2 separate regions of the Homo sapiens genome follow, and region 2 is linked to region 1. Evidence: promoter capture Hi-C in human tissues and cell types (Jung and others, 2019). All regions are on one chromosome and are shown on one strand. Each heading gives the region's core, a stretch centred on a gene start or on the middle of the fragment in contact. The rest is flanking DNA. Distances are from core to core; before and after follow the strand shown. Region 1 holds the start of SHISA4 (shisa family member 4). Region 2 overlaps NAV1 (neuron navigator 1).

Region 1 (3,340 bases), core at 373-2,872:
ATGGTGGTGGCAACCACAGCAACAAAGAGGATCACAGCTGAGGCGATGCCTGCTATGGTCTTGGGGCTTTAGACAAAGAACAGGTCCTCTCACCTTCCAACACTCATAGGACGGAGTCCTCATTATGCTGGCTCCAACTCCTGGCCAGCAGGGGGGCCATGGCATGCTGAGATTTGGGGTTCCTTGTGGGGCTCTGCCCAGTCCCTGTGAAGGAGATCTTAGAGGACCTCCACTTCCCAGAAGGCTATGCTGCCTGGCTGGCTAGTGTGAAGCATACGGGGATTTGCAGTGCGCCCCCAACCATTGCTTTTATATCTACAACTTAAATGATTAGACATACAGCATAACACTGAAAGGAGCCTTAGAAATAATCTAGAGCCATTTTTTCCAAACCCCGCTTCAATCAGAAGTCTCTATATCTATTTTATATATGATATATTAAAAAAAAGTTTGACAACCACTAATTTGGCAAGCAATGACCCATAGAAGGCAAGTGTCTTCTCCAAGATCACACAGCTAGTAAGAAGTGGACCTGGGAATCAAACCCAAGTCTCCTGCCTTTGTGCCAGAGCTTCTTCCACAAAGCTACACTGTCGTCCGGGTGTTAACCTTGAACCCTCCCTCCCCATGACCTGGCAGGACCAAAGGGAGGGCTCCAGAAAGAACCTGGAAACCCCGGGCCCAGTCAAAGCCTATGAAGGTAACTAACATGCCTTTTCTGGAACTCCCAGGCACCAGCACCTAAGCACCTAGCTCTGCCGCCAGGCTTGAGTCCTGGTGACTCTATTCAGCTAAGAATGTGGAGGTCGACAACGGAGGAGGCAGGAGTCCGGGAGGGAGGAAGAGGAGGCCTCTGGAGAAAAGGATAGAGGAGGTGGTGAGGGTGAGGAGGCAGGAACCCACCTGAAGGCCAGGCAGTGCTTCTGCTGCCTCTCGGTGATAAGCAAGGTCAGGTCCCTGCAGCAGTACCGATGGTAGCAGGTCCCGCAGCAGAAGGTGAAGAACTCGCAGTTAAACCCCGGATGCCAGGAGCCATTCCGGTCCAGGTACCACAGGCAGTCCTCGCCGGCCAGCACTGCGGGCAGGGATTGGGGGTGCCCAGTGGCCACCAGGCCAGTTCATCCCCAGCCGCGCTCGGCCCCACTCCCCCGGCGGTCCCCAGCCTGACGGCTCCCGAACACTGAGGGTTGCCCCTTGTCTCCACCCTGAGGGTCTCAGCCCCAGAGCCCCCGAGGCCTCTGCCTGAAGCTGACCCTGCACCCCGGGATCAGCCTCCCATGGCCCAGCATCCTGGAGCTCCCTCTTCCCGCTTCTTGAGGACCCAGCAACACCCAAGGCTCCCGTGGCAGCCGGAGGGTCTCGGAGAAGCCCCGAGCCCAAGCCCCTCGGATCGGTCCCTCCCCTTCCTCCGCCCCCATCCCACTCCTGCCGCATCTCTCCCCATCCCCTTACCCAGGGGAGCCCCCAGCACCAACAGAGCGATTGCGGTGAGCGGCGCGGCCCGGCGGAGCCCCGCGGGTGGCATGGTGGGGGCTGGGCGCGGCCGGGGTCGGGCCTCCCAGAGAAGGGACCGCAGGACCAAGCCGGCCAGCTGGAGCTGCGGCGGGGCCCAGCCCGCGGCCAGGCTCGGGCTCCTCTTCCGCCTCCTCTGGGGGTGGGACTAAGCGCCCCGCCCGCGCTAACCCAGCCGGCGCGGCTCCGCGCAGCGCCCAGGAGTCCACCCACCAGCGACGCCCACCTAGCCTCTGGAGCTGGGTGCCCCTCACCCAGCAGAGCACTGCCCTGCTCCCCCTGTCCCCGGCTCCGCGGTGGTTCCTCCCATCCGAGCCACCATGGGCACTGCGGGCAGTTGGGCACTGCGGCCAGGGAAGCCTGGCTGTGTCCTGGACCCGCCCCCGGCCTGGGCCCAATCACTATGCTGGACTCCAGAAGCCCTGATCCTGGTGCCACCTCCGAATGCCCAGACACATGGGCCAACCCTGGAGGAGCAGGGCTGGACCTTCACTTGTGGGGGACCTCCTCTGCCGCGTCCAGCCTGGGACATCCTGTCGGGGGCGGAGAGGGAAAGAGGCTGGATGTCACCCCGCCCCCATTCCCAGAACACAAGCACTCATTGAGAGGCATTCAGAGTGGCTTTGTCCCCAGCGGTGCCCACAGGCCTGAACCCTGCCAGCTGCACTGGCTCCCTACGATGGACCCTTCCCCCTTCAAGTGGACAGAGCTGGCATGCACCAGCCCATGGCCTCACTAGCAGGGAAGGCAGGCTGCTGGGGCCACCTGGGGCCCATCCAGTTAAACACTCTTCACAGTGAAAGCCCTTCACAGAGCAAGCCTGTACTGCAATAGCCACCGGAGCATAGGGAGGGCAACAGTTAATTTCAGGTGGGCAACAGTTAATTCCAGGTGGAGACAGTGTTTTAGGATGGGAGAGGTCAGTCTTCACAGGTTTATACTGAGTGCCAGTGACTATGCCCCATGCTACATGAGGTACCCTCCGAGGAACTGCAAATTAAGCCAGGGAGATCATCAAAAGCCTACCTTAATCCCCTGCCATGTACACCCTTTCACACACTTCTGGGCTTCCACATCTACCTCACTGGAATCTTTCCACAACTCCATGAACTAAGCAAGGTTCATCAGTGTTATCAATCGCATTTCACAGACTGAGAAACTAGGACTCATGGAGGTTAAAGAACTTGTTCAAGGTAATACAGCCAGTAAATGGTAGAGGCATCAGGAAGACCCAAATCTAAATCAGGGTTGATCCCCAGCCGCAACAGCAGACAGTGTAGACAGTGAGTATTTCTTGTGTTCTGGGGTGAGAGAATCAGGACAGGTCCATGGAAGGCCCAGTAGAATCTTAGTAGGTTAGGGAAGGACAGCCGAAAGAGGAGCTACCCCATCCTGGGCCCCTGTGGGTGCTGGCACACCTACCCAAGAGAGCTGGAATAGGAGAGGATAGGCTCCTGCCCCAGAAAGTTGCTGGTAGCCTGATGGGCAAGAGTATGTCCTCACGCAGGACACAGTCATAAATGCAGCAGCAGGGACAAAGAGAAACGCCTCTGAATCCAGCACCACCTACTCAGTGTGCCCATTGCCATCCATCTCCTCTTTCCTACACTAAAAGCTCCATGACTGCAGGGACCACGTGGCTGTGTTCAATGTGGCCATCCAGCCCTAGCCATCAGTGTTGTCATTGTTGGTTGAATCATCTTCAGATAAGGGACTGTCTTTCCTGCCCAGAGCTGAATCTCCCATGTGTACCCTTGACCCCTGCTGATTTGTCTCTTCATTATCCCATCTCTTTAGTGTCTTTAGCTTCTCACACCTTACCAGCTTC
Region 2 (3,340 bases), core at 398-2,897, 130 kb after region 1:
GAAAGAAAGAAAGAAAGAAAGAAAGAAGGAAAGAAAGAAAGAGAATTGCTCATTAGTTCTTTGCCCTTTTCCAGACACCTGGAGAAGGAACTATAAAAAATGTGGGATGTGCTGGAGAAGAAAACCTATTGGTCTGGAGAAGGAATTTTTCTTCAGGGTGAAAATGCAGAGAATTTCTACATATTGAGTCACATGAAGGCAAAATATTGACTAAAAAGCTAGGCAGCAAGGAAGTAGGGATTTTAAGGCATTATGAAGGAGACTGCAGAGTCTTCCCTACTTGGCAACAACCCAGGACACCATCAGTCTATTTGGCCAGAGAGACCAAATGTTTAGTTATAAAATGTAGAGGGCCCTGAGACACTTCTTGTGCCTTGTGTTGATATTTTGTAGGGAGACATAAAACAATATGAAGAGTTGGTAAAATGGTTTTGCTCCAGAATTAGCAAGGAAGTATGAAGCATTCAGGGAACTAAGCTTTTTAAATGTCTGAAAATATGATTATAGCGCTACAGACTACAGAAAATCTAGAAAAACACATGAGAACTGAAGATTTAAATATTTTTATATAGGCTCTGCATTATGCCCATATTTGTTTATTTTTTTCCCCAATTTTCAGTCTGTTACTTGGAACACTGCTCCTTAGTAGTAATTAAACTGTTAAGTGGCAACTTTTTCATGCTGGATCTATTCTGCCCACCCTACACCACTTTTTTTTTTTTTTTTTTTTTGAGACAGAGTTTCACTCAGTCACCAGGCTGGAGTGCAATGGCGCAACCTCAGCTCACTGCAACCTCTGACTCCCTGGTTCAAGCAATTCTCCTGCCTCAGCCTCCTGAGTAGCTGGGATTACAGGCATGCACCACCACGCCCAGCTAATTTTTTTGTATTTTTAGTAGAGATGGGGTTTCACCATGTTGGCCAGGATGGTCTCGATCTCCTGACCTTGGGATCCACCCACCTTAGCCTCCCAAAGTGCTGGGATTACAGGTGTGAGCCACCGTGCCCAGCCCACAACTTTTTTTAAAGCTGTGTTTCTTCTAGGAGCCTCTTCTCCACGCCAGGCATAAGGAGGAGGTTTATTTTAATGACTTTCACCTTCCAGGTCTTTCCAGACATAAAGCAACTAATGTGTAAGTGCATTAATTGCCAAATCTCACAAACCACACTACTATGATTCTTGTCTTGCAGCCTCTAACTAAAATTGAACTAAGAATGCAAGTTTTCCTAGCCTATATCTGGTCATGGAAACCAGTTTAGTTCCTATCCTGCAGCAATGTTGATAGCCAATCATTACTGCCCTTTCAAATAACAATAAAAACTAAGTTAAGCTAAAATAAGTATATCTTCTTCCTCTTCCTCCTCTTTCTCTTCTTCCTCCTCCTCCTCCTCTTCTTCTCTTTCTTCTTTTTTTTGAGACAAGAGTCTCACTCTGTTGCCCAGGCTGAAGTGCAGTGGTGTAATCATGGCTCACTGCAGCCTTGACCTCCTCTTGCCTCAGGCAAGTAACTGGGACCACAGGCCTGTGCCACCATGCCTGGCTAATTTTTAAATTTTTTGTAGAGGGGGGGCCTCAATTTGTTGCCCAGGCAGGGGAAATAAGATAATATCTTAAGTTTTTAAATGTTTTTATGCAAAATATTTAATTGTTATTTTAGAGATAAGAGAGTATTTGTTGATTCTTTCTAGTGTTGCTGAAAAATGTTGAAATGTGTACAAAATGTCAACTGGGGCATATTTAAGGCAAGGTATTAAGTAACATGTTGTCTTTACTCTGAATTCTTATTACTGATGTCTAAAGGCACTAATTTCTCTAAAGTTGTATCTCAAATTATCTAAAGTCATTCCTCTGTTCCTGACTGGCATTTTTAAACATTATACCTGATATGACATATTCTTTAACATTGTAGCATAATTCCATTGTTTGAGACAAATTATGTAAATTTATTGCTAATTTATTGGGAGGGTCCATTGTACATATTGAATGAAACGCATTATTTCCCTATTTTTAAAAACTGGTTTAGTTAATATAACAGGACAAAATAAAATCAAATCCTGTGGTACAAATAACATAAAATAAAAAATTTTCTAGCATAGATCATAGGATTAAAAAGGTAAAAGCAGATAGAGCAGGAGATAGTTATGTCTAGTTTGATCCTGCTGCCTCATCACTCATGAGCCACATGGAGAGAACTTTTCGCCTGCATTTGTAGGCTACCAGCTGTCTCTCCTTTCAACTACTACACTCATCGCCTCTCCACCTTACCTCACATTTACTCCCCCACTCATTGGAACTTGGCTTTCATTTCCACTGCTTCACTGAAATCTCTTTGGCAAGGGTTACCAAAGATCTCTACATTGCTAATTCAACTAGGACTTTTTCATCCTTTCTGACTTCTGCGTTGCATTTAACACTGTCAGTCACTCCTTGAAATTCTTCCCTCTGTTAGCCTCGGTGACAGCATTCTCTTTCTGTTCCTGCTTATCCAGATTCCTTCTTCCTCCTCTGCCCACCTTTTACACTTTGGTCTTTCATTATATGTGGCTCTTGACTTACTGGTGTTCCTCTTCTACCTATTCCCTTGGGAGTCCTGTCCCATTGGCAAACATGATGGCAGAGTATCTTCCTGTATAGGGTATGAGAGGTTGGGTGGAAGGGTCTGGCACAGAGTAGATTCTCCATAAATACTTGTTGAATGAATCAAGGGGTTATATTAAAATATTTTCCCCGGAACAGAGGTGATTAGAGAATCTTAGGGTCTGTGGCAGGAAAGAAGGCAATATGGAAAAAAAACACTTGCTAAGTGCTTTCTTCAAAGCAACTTTATCCCATTGCAAGTTCCCAGATTCCAGCTTTCCTTCACTTTCCCCTTCTTTGGGTAGTCATCTGCCATCAGAATGACAATGTATCTACTTCTGGCAAAGAATTTTCTTGGGTTTCTGTAGTTGGGAAAGTCACATCAGGACTTTATTGGTCCCTTCTTTTGTGTAACAACAATAATCATATGCACATTTACCCACCAAACAGAAGCTAGCCCTTTATGTAACCCCCAGTGTGTTTCTGGAATGTGCTCCTATGTGGAGTTTGCCTAGCACAGCTTAAAAATTGCAAGAAGGATGCAGAATGTGCTGTGGAATTGTTTGTGTGTAAAATCGTTTGACCTCTCATGATGAGAGCTTCTTGAGAGCCTGAAGCCTTGTCATTTCTGTGGAAAACATTTATCCTAGCCAATGAAAACACACGGTGTTTGAGTTGAGCACTGTCATTCTGAAGGAGTCACTGGAGAAGCACTATTAAGGTAAAATATTACCCCCAATCCGTTTCTCTAATAAGGACATT

Evidence for each region. The method cuts DNA at HindIII sites, captures the fragments that hold promoters and counts their contacts. A contact is called where the count stands out against the background at its distance.
Region 2: a contact is called between a fragment that was not itself captured here and the fragment with the promoter of SHISA4 in region 1, in 1 of the 25 tissues and cell types used here (H1 embryonic stem cells).

What each region holds. Positions count from the first base shown.
Region 1 is chr1:201,887,180-201,890,519 of GRCh38, reverse strand. It overlaps SHISA4 (shisa family member 4), which reads right to left and starts at 1,622. Exons shown (of 5, transcript NM_198149.3): 1 at 1,453-1,622; 2 at 904-1,075; 3 at 1-66. The coding sequence starts at 1,525. RefSeq lists enhancers at 1,485-1,779, 1,620-2,129. The HindIII fragment of the contact is 16,044 bases long and covers 1-3,340 here.
Region 2 is chr1:201,753,497-201,756,836 of GRCh38, reverse strand. The region is part of intron 7 of NAV1 (neuron navigator 1); the gene reads right to left. All of the region lies in intron 2 of IPO9-AS1 (IPO9 antisense RNA 1), which reads left to right. It overlaps LOC124904483 (a long non-coding RNA gene), which reads left to right. Exons shown (of 2, transcript XR_007066790.1): 1 at 1-3,340. Among named protein-coding and RNA genes, the nearest start is that of MIR5191, 36 kb to the right of the region's middle. The HindIII fragment of the contact is 4,379 bases long and covers 1-3,340 here.